Regions from separate parts of the Homo sapiens genome. Here all the other regions are linked to region 1. The links are contacts of gene promoters, found by promoter capture Hi-C in human tissues and cell types (Jung and others, 2019). All regions are on one chromosome and are shown on one strand. Each heading gives the region's core, a stretch centred on a gene start or on the middle of the fragment in contact. The rest is flanking DNA. Distances are from core to core; before and after follow the strand shown. Region 1 holds the start of MRPS15 (mitochondrial ribosomal protein S15). Region 2 has its middle 39 kb from the start of CSF3R. Region 3 has its middle 21 kb from the start of CSF3R.

Region 1 (2,889 bases), core at 241-2,740:
ACTCCTGGCCTCAAGTGATCCTCCAGCCTTGGCCTCCCAAAATGTTGGGGCCATGTCCAGCCAATAATTTCTTTCTTTTTTGTTTTTTTGAGATGGAGTCTCGCTCTGTCACCCAGGCTGGAGTGCAGTGGCACGATCGGCTCACTGCAACCTCCACCTCCCAGGTTCAAGCGATTCTCCTGCCTCAGCCTCCTGAGTAGCTGGGATTACAGGCGCGCGCTACCACACCTGGCTAATTTTTTTCTGTATTTTTAGTAGAGACGAGGTTTCACCATGTTGGCCAGGCTGGTCTCGAACTCCTGAACTCAAGTGATCTGCCCACCTTGGCCTCCCAAAGTGTTGGGATTACAGGCGTAAGCCACCGCGTCCGGCCCCAGATAATAAATTCTAATATATACTATCAATATATTTAATTGAGCACAGCGTTAAGGGTGCTTTTCGTGTATTATCGCTGAATCCTAACAATCCTTGCAAATGGATACTTTCACACTCATTTTAGAAATAAGAATCAGAGAGAGGAAGTACCTTGCCCCATATCATTTACCTAATAAGAAGGATCTTAACTACTATGCATACTGAGTTGCAATGGGAAATTACATCCTGCATCTCAGAAGCGCAGACACAAAGTGCCATACTCTAGGTAGGCCTGGGTGGTGCCAGCCATGCACTCCCTCTGGGAAGCTCATTTTCACTCATTCACCTGGAAAGCTCCTGCTCCCGCCCTTCACACCCCTCTGTCCCCATACAGGCTGCAGGCCTAGGGCTTTGTGTAAGGTGGACGTGGGGTCTTTTGCTCAGGACCTCTGGCTCACCTCATCTAGTGGCTCTAATTCGCCACATCGGTCCCCTTACCCACCCCAGCCTTCCAGGAGGTCTCTCTTCCGCCCCAAGTCCCACCTTAGGAACTCCTACCTGGTTTCCGGACGACATATCCGCGCGCGGCCTGGAGGAGGAGACCTACGCAGAAAAGAGAGGGCTGAGGACCATCTCCTTAAATAGCCCACCCCTCAGTTCCTTTCTGTGCCCCTCGCATTGCCCGTCCGCCACGGTCTATGCGCTTCTGAACCTAACCGCTGCCCCATTTCTTCCCTACCCCTTGTCTCTCACATCTTGTTTCACCTCTTGCGCAACCACCGCCCTTTCCCCCTTATCCTGACCGCTGTATATCTCCCCTACTCCTGTGCTTCCTTATTCCCTATCTTCGCCGAACCCTGTTTCCCTACGCCCGCCGTCCCATTTCTCAGCTCCTCACTTCGAGGCTGCAGGCCCCACTGGTTGAAAGGAAACTTGGCGCTCCCACCGCCCGGCAGCCCGGGTACTAGGACCTGGGTAACTGCCCGGGTCCGAATCAAACTCAGCGTCCTCCACGCGACCCTCAGCATGGTGACCTCTAACCCCCGCGGGGCCCGCGCCGCGGCCGCCGTTCGCTTTGCGGCACGGACCGGGTTACATGGGCGCCGCCATGCTGGCCCAGGATCGACCAATCGAGGCAGTTGCAATACCGGAGCAGACGAAGACCGAGAGAATGGATTAGGTGGCGTGACTCTGATGACGCAACGCACGGGGCGGAGCTCAGAGACCGGGTTCCCGCTGCGCGTGATCGGGCCGTGGTGGTTGTGTGCCCACGTTTAGCAGCGTGCTGGGGTGCTGTATAAATTCTAAAATGCCACTTTTTGGAGGGCATGCGTTCCGTCCTTAATCTCATTCCTGGCCCTCGGGCCAGGGTTATTTTGGGAGGTCCATGGCGCCTGCGGTAGCCTTCTACCCCCAACCCAATCCCCTCTCCACCCCACCTCACCCCTCCCTTAGACAAGGATGGGACCGTGTAAGAACTACTACTGGGTTTCAGCCATGTCTCTGGCAGCCTCGTAGCCTGGAGACTAAAGTCGCTGAGTTTGGAATCGCACAGTCCTGGTCTGGAATCCTAACTCAGCCATTTACTCAACATGTGATCTTGTGGGCAAGTCACTTAACCTATGTGGGCCCTGTAGGGATAGTAATAACAATATCTCTCTTTTAGGTTGTTGAGAGGATTAACTGAGTTGTATGCAGACCACCTGGTATATAGTGAGCATTTAGTAAATCTTTACGGTGACGTTATTTGTGAAATGAGTGGTGTAAGGGTGGATACAAATTAGAAGAAAAAGAAAATTTAATTTTCCCTGGCGCAAAAAGGGAAAAGACTCCTTCCCCTCACTTTTCTGAGAGCATTTACTTTAGAAAACTTGTAATTGTGAATACTTTCTCTACTGCTTTGCGATGAATGTAAATCTTCTTAAAAGGTAAATAAACCTCTTGCCAGTTTTACAACCCCGGAATGTTTTTCTCAAGGACCTGGGGGCCAACCCTTTGAAATGTAATAATTAAGGAAGATAGTGCTCTCTCTCAGTTCCTGTGGGAGGGTAGGAGCCTAACTTCAGTTGGTGCCTAGCTCTTAGTTGCAACCTACCCTTTGTTATAAAGATAGGGGAAATCGATTTTTCCTTTGGATAAAGGCAATTAGCAGACACAGGTGGCTTCCCACTTACCAGGTAAATTTAGAGTGAGGTGCAGCCAAGTCCTCTTGCTTGAGGACCAGTTATTGTTTATCTTGAGAAAATGGATACAGTAAGTTGTATTCACTTTGCTACATAAAAGAGTAAGATTTTTGTCTCTTTGCAGTCTCTTTAGTGGATCACCAGTGTATCACATTCCGGTTTAATGCTTATTCAATAATAACACTGTTTTCTTTCTTTTCTACCCTTGTGAAGAGGTTTTCTGCGTTGGCAGGGGATTTTGTCTTTAATTTTATTTCCCCAACAGGGGTTAGTTTTTCCAAAGTCTCTTCACCGTGTCCCACCGCACTGTCACTCCCCCCGTGTAACCCATGCCACTGTGCCCTAAGGATCA
Region 2 (2,889 bases), core at 100-2,599, 57 kb after region 1:
ATCCCCACACCCGGCTAATTTTTGTACTTTTAGTAGAGACGGTGTTTCACCATATTGGCCAGGCTGTTCACGAACTCCTGACCTCATGTGATTCGCCCGCCTCGGCCCCCTGAAGTGCTGGGATTACAGGCGTGAGCCACTGTGCCCCAGCCCATCATCAGTTTTTAAGTGTGGGGTCACAGGTGTGTGGCTACTTCCAGGTGTGTCTGTGCACATGCATGCATAATTGGAATGTGTGTGATGGGTGTCAGGACATATTCAGATGTACAGACCTGTGACCGCCTCCCACCCCCTCTCCCAAGGCTCTTCCCCCAAACCTGAAAAGCCACAGGATGGAGGAAGAGGCCCAGCCTCAGCAGGCCTGCCTTGGTCCCTGGCTCCCCTCCGAGCCCCAGCGGAGAGTTAATTAAATCCCTTTCCCAACAAGGGTGGTAATTAGTGCTAATGGTTCGGCTTCCACTCAGAGGCTGGAGAGGTTCCTGCTCCGTGTCTGTGTGTGTATGTGTGTTAGGGGGTGGGTAGCAGGGCCTTCTCAGTTCCAGAAACTTATGGGGTGTGGAGAGGGGCTTCTGAGAACTCCCCAGTCTTTTCCTGCTCCTGTCTCCTGATCTTACGGGCTCCAGGAGGCTGGGAGTGTGGTGGGTCTCCCGCCAGCCTGCCTGGGAAGAACCTGGTTGTGGTGCCCTTAGCTTGAGGCCTGTGGCTCTCTAGGAATCTGTTTGTGACTGAGGGTGTGCTTCTGTGTGTGTGTGTGTTTGTGTCTGTGCGCGTGCACAAGGGACACTCTGAACCATGCTGTGTGCATATAAATGACCATATATATAACAGTGATATATGAATGGTGCCCCCTGGAATTGTGCAATGTGGTAGCCCTGATTCACAGACCCCAAGTTGGCATGTCCATGATGTGTGCAATGACTCTGTGTTTCTGGGTGTCCTCTGTGTGTTTCGAGGTGTACCTGAAGGTGGGTGCCAGTGAGTGTGGGCCTATGTGTGTTTACATGTGACAAAATGCAAGGAGCAGCAGGGCCGCTGGCTTCTGGGGCCTGACTGACACCCCTTGCAAATAAATGTGACAATGAAATACAGTCCTGGAATTGCTTTGGATGCTCCGTCAAGCAGGCGACGCAGAATAGGTGAAGCTGTAAAGTGTTCCCTGGGGAGCTGTGTGGCTGAGTGACAGCCCCGTGCTGGCTCCTGCCTCTCTGCCTGGCTCTCCCTTGTGAGACCCTGGGGCTGAAGACACTCATCCTGACCACAGCCTGGAAGACTCGGGAGAACCGGCTTCCACAGCCTGTGAGGAGTGAAGGGCAGAGGGGACCTGGCAGGGCTCCATCCCTTCACCATTGTCTCATCGCTCTCTTCAGGTGGAGTGCCCAGAGTAGGGCTGTGTCCCATCCCCGTCATATGCACTCAGACTGGGCTCTCTCAGGACAGGGTCCTGTCTCCCCCCTCAGACTGGGCTGTCTCAGGACAGGGCCCTGTCTCCTCCCTCAGACTGGGATCTCTCAGGAAAGGGCCCTGTCTCCCCTCTCAGACTGGACTCTCTCAGGAAAGGGCCCTGTCTCCCCCCTCAGACTGGGCTGTCTCAGGACAGGGCCCTGTCTCCTCCCTCAGACTGGGATCTCTCAGGAAAGGGCCCTGTCTCCCCTCTCAGACTGGACTCTCTCAGGAAAGGGCCCTGTCTCCCTCCTCAGACTGGGCTCTCTCAGGACAGGGCCCTGTCTCCTCCCTCAGACTGGGCTCTCTTAGGAAAGGGCCCTGTCTCCCCTCTCAGACTGGGCTCTCTCAGGACAGGGCCATGTCTCCTCCCTCAGACTGGGCTCTCTCAGGACAGGGACCTGTCTCCCTTCTCAGACTGGGCTCTCTCAGGACGGGGTCCTGTCTCCCCCCTCAGACCCGGCTCTCTCAGGACAGGGTCCTGTCTCCTCCCTCAGACTGGGCTCTCTCAGGACAGGGTCCTGTCTTCCCCCTCAGACTGGGCTCTCTCAGGACAGGGTCCTGTCTCCTCCCTCAGACTGGGCTCTCTCACGACAGGGTCCTGTCTCCTCCCTCAGACTGGGCTCTCTCAGGACAGGGCCCTGTCTCCCCCCTCAGACTGGGCTTTCTCAGGACAGGGCCCTGTCTCCCCCCTCAGACTGGGTCTCCAGAGGGCAGAGTTCTGCCTTCCTCTCCGGGGCTCCCTTGAGTGGGGATGTTTCTCCTAAGATTGGGAGACCGCTCAAGAGAGGGCCGAGTCTCCCTGTGAGGCCCGAGCCCCTGAGCACCCTCCGCTTGGTTTATGCGTGTATCGCACACTCATGCATGCATATCTGGCTGCAGATTTGGAGGTTGCAGAGCTGTCTGCATGAGCCTTAGCTCTGGAGACCTGGGTTCAAATCCCACACCTGCTAACTTCATTAGCCATGATCTCAGGGAGGTAGTAACAGCTTCCACAAAGTCAGGGCACTGCTTAGGGCTCTGGTTAGGGGCTGACAGGACACTTTTTTCTTTTTTTTTCAATCACAAAAGTGCCTTCTGCTCGTTAAGCCATGTGCCCTCCCAGGTGGCACCTCATTCTAATAGTTAGGCCAGGGGTGCCTTGTTAAATTCTCCCCAAATAGCAGGGCAGGCTACCATGGCCCTGCACAGAGGGTGTGGCGTGCCGTGGAAAGTGCTTGCTCAGTGCCCGGCCTGCTTCCAGCACCCATGGAGCCAAACACCACCTCTGCCAGGTCTCCTGGTGGTGGCAGTGAGTGCCAGGGTCCTCTCTGGGTCTGCCAGCTGCATGGGGGACACTTTGGTATCTTTGTTTCACCCCTTTATCTTTTTGGGTGTCCACTTGTTCTTAGAGCCAGAGGTTGAAGTGTGTGTGTGTGTGCACATGTGCACAGGCAGGGGAGGTTGCAG
Region 3 (2,889 bases), core at 123-2,622, 40 kb after region 1:
TGTAGCTCTCCCAGCTTTCTTTTTTAAAAAATGTCGTAAATTTTTTTTAGAGACAGGATCTCGCTCGCTCTGTCACCCAGGCTGGAGTGCAGTGGTGTGATCATGGCTTACTGCAGCCTCAAACTCCTTGGCTCAAATAACCCTTCCACCTCAGCCTCCTGAGTAGGTGGAACTATAGACACACACCACCATGCCTGCTAATTATTTTTTATTGTAGAGATGGGGGTCTTGCTATGTTGCCCAGGCTGACCTCAAACTCCTGGCCTCAAGCAATTCTCCCACCTCATCCTCCCAAAGTGCTGAGATTACAAGTGTAAGCCACTGCATTCGGCCTCCAGCTTTCTTTTGATTAGTGTTTGTGTGGTCTTTCAATCTATCTCCTTATGTTTCAGTGTTTTAGATATGCCACCATATGCAGCATAGAGCTGGATTCTAAAAAATCCAATCTAACAATATGTATTTTAAATAGCACACATAGACTTTTAGTTTATTGTGATTATAGATACATCTCGAGTTATTTTTGTTATCTTTCTTATCCTATTCCCCCTCCCCCTATTCTTTCTCTTCCTACTGGTTCTTCCTTTGGATTTATTGAGTTTGTTTATTTTCTTACTCTATGCTTTTCTACCTCCTTTATTGATTTGGAATTTATATACCCTACTTGTATATTTCTATTGAAATAGATAGATTGCTTCTATATTTCTGTTGAAATAGATAGATTCTATTGATTGCTTTTGAAATTCTATCCTGCATACCTAAAGAAATCTCAGATTATGAGTTTCTCAACCACCTTCCTAAATAATAGACTGAACTTTGAACCCTTTGGCTGTGATCTTCCCCTACAGGTTTACATACTCTCTTTTTGGTGCAGTTTTTGAATTATTTCCTTACTGTTCCCGTCTGTTGTCATTATTTTATATAATATTTGTATAGATTTATTTGTTTATCAATTTCTTTGCTTACTATTCTTTTGTGCATACCAGTCCTTCCTTCTGGGGTAATTTCCCTTTTTCTTGTAGCATATTCTTCAGTAAAGATTTGTTGTTGGTAAATGCTTTTTGCTTTTCTTTCTCTGAAAAAAATCCAGATGTTTCCATTTCACCGTCAGCTTTGGAAGATGGTTTTGCTAAGTTCACAATTCTAGGTTGACAGTTATTTTCTCCCAGAACTTTGAAGCTCGTCCCTGTCTTCTGGCTTTCACTGTTGCTTTTGAGAGGTGTGCTGTCATTTAATTATCCTTCCTTTGTGGGTGGCATGTCTTTTCTGTGTGGCTGCTTTTAAGATCTCTGTCTTTGGTGTTATGCAGTTTCTCCACACTGTGATTAGCTGTGAATTTCCTTTTATTTATGTTGTTAGATGTATGTTACGTTCCCAGTGTCTGTGAAGTCATGCCTTTCATCAGTTCTGGAAAGTTCTCAGCCATTATCTCTTCAAATATTGCCTCTCCCTCTTTCTCTCTCTATCCTCTTTCTGGGACTTTTATTCTACCTGCTATTGCTTTTAACCTGTCTTTCATATTGTCCATTTGCTTGTCTCTGTGCTGAAAATTGTGTAATGTCTTCAGATTAATCTTCCAGCTCACTCTGTCTCATCAACTGTGTCTAATATGCTGTTTAACCCATTTGTTGAATTTTTGGTTTCAACAAGTTATTTCATTTCTAAAAGTTCTCTGCTGTTCTTTTCCAGATCTATTTTTAAAAATTATCTCTTGTGATTTGATCACTTTTGTGATTTCATTTTTTATTTCTTTAAAATCTTCAATTATAGTTATTTCATTTACTGTAATTATGATAATTACAATTTCTGTTATCCTTAGGGATCTATATCTACTGTATGTTATTTCTGCTAACAATTGCCTCTTGTGTGTTTGGTGATTTTTTTTTTAATTGTGGATTTATATGTATAGTTGGTCCTCTGTATCTGTGGGTTCTGCATCTTGGATTTAACCCATCGAGGATGGAAAATACTTGGAAAAAAAATTCCGCTAAGTTCCAAAAAGCAAAACTTGAACTTGCTGTGTGCCAAGTACTATTTTCCTGTGTGCCAAGTACTATTTTGAATCCATTAGAACAAAGTGATGTGTATGCATTGTATTAGGTATTATAAGTAACCTAGAGATAATTTAAAGTATATGAGAGGGTGTGTGTATGTTATATGCAAATACTATGGTGTTTTGTTCTGTTTTGAGACAGACTCTCACTCTGTCTCCCATGCTGGAGTGCAGTGACACAATACAGTTGCTCACTGTAGCCTCCACCTCCCAGGCTCAAGTGATCCTCCCACATCAGCCTCCCAAGTAGCTGGGACTACAGGGGCACAGGTGCACACCACCACATCCAGCTAATTTTAAATTTCTTCTTATGTATGTATGTATGTATTTATTTATTTTGTATTTTTAGTAGAGACGGGGTTTCACCATGTTAGCCAGGATGGTCTTGATCTCCTGACCTCCTGATCCACCCGCCTCGGCCTCCCAAAGTGTTGGGATTACAGGCATGAGCCACTGCGCCTGGTCTAATTTCTTTTTAGAGATGGGGGTCTCACGATGTTGTCCAGTCTAGTCTGGAGCCCCTGAGCCCAATCATCCTTTCACCTCGGCCTCCCAAAATGCTAGGATTACAGGCATAAGCCACCATGCCTACCCCACTGTCACTTAAGATAAGGGACGTGAATATCCACAGATTTTGGTATCTGTAGAGGTCCTGGAACCAATTCCCCATGGATACCAAGGGATAACTGTATATTCTTTGGCAATCTTGAGTGCCTAAGTTGGGGATGCTATCCTTCAGAGAGGCTTTGTTTGCTGCCTGGTGCTATGTTGTGGGTAGCAATAATAGTGCTTATTATATAGGATTGTTAGAAATATTAAATAGGGCTGGGCATGATGGC

What was found. The method cuts DNA at HindIII sites, captures the fragments that hold promoters and counts their contacts. A contact is called where the count stands out against the background at its distance.
Region 2: a fragment that was not itself captured here is called in contact with the fragment with the promoter of MRPS15 in region 1 in 1 of the 25 tissues and cell types used here (stomach).
Region 3: a fragment that was not itself captured here is called in contact with the fragment with the promoter of MRPS15 in region 1 in 1 of the 25 tissues and cell types used here (stomach).

What each region holds. Positions count from the first base shown.
Region 1 is chr1:36,462,894-36,465,782 of GRCh38, forward strand. MRPS15 (mitochondrial ribosomal protein S15) reads right to left here and starts at 1,491. Exons shown (of 8, transcript NM_031280.4): 1 at 1,253-1,491; 2 at 913-957. The coding sequence starts at 1,382. RefSeq lists enhancers at 499-1,402, 798-1,997, 1,397-1,646, 1,403-2,304. The HindIII fragment of the contact is 17,048 bases long and covers 1-2,889 here.
Region 2 is chr1:36,520,015-36,522,903 of GRCh38, forward strand. No RefSeq gene overlaps it. Among named protein-coding and RNA genes, the nearest start is that of CSF3R, 39 kb to the left of the region's middle. The HindIII fragment of the contact is 7,915 bases long and covers 1-2,889 here.
Region 3 is chr1:36,502,554-36,505,442 of GRCh38, forward strand. No RefSeq gene overlaps it. Among named protein-coding and RNA genes, the nearest start is that of CSF3R, 21 kb to the left of the region's middle. The HindIII fragment of the contact is 8,891 bases long and covers 1-2,889 here.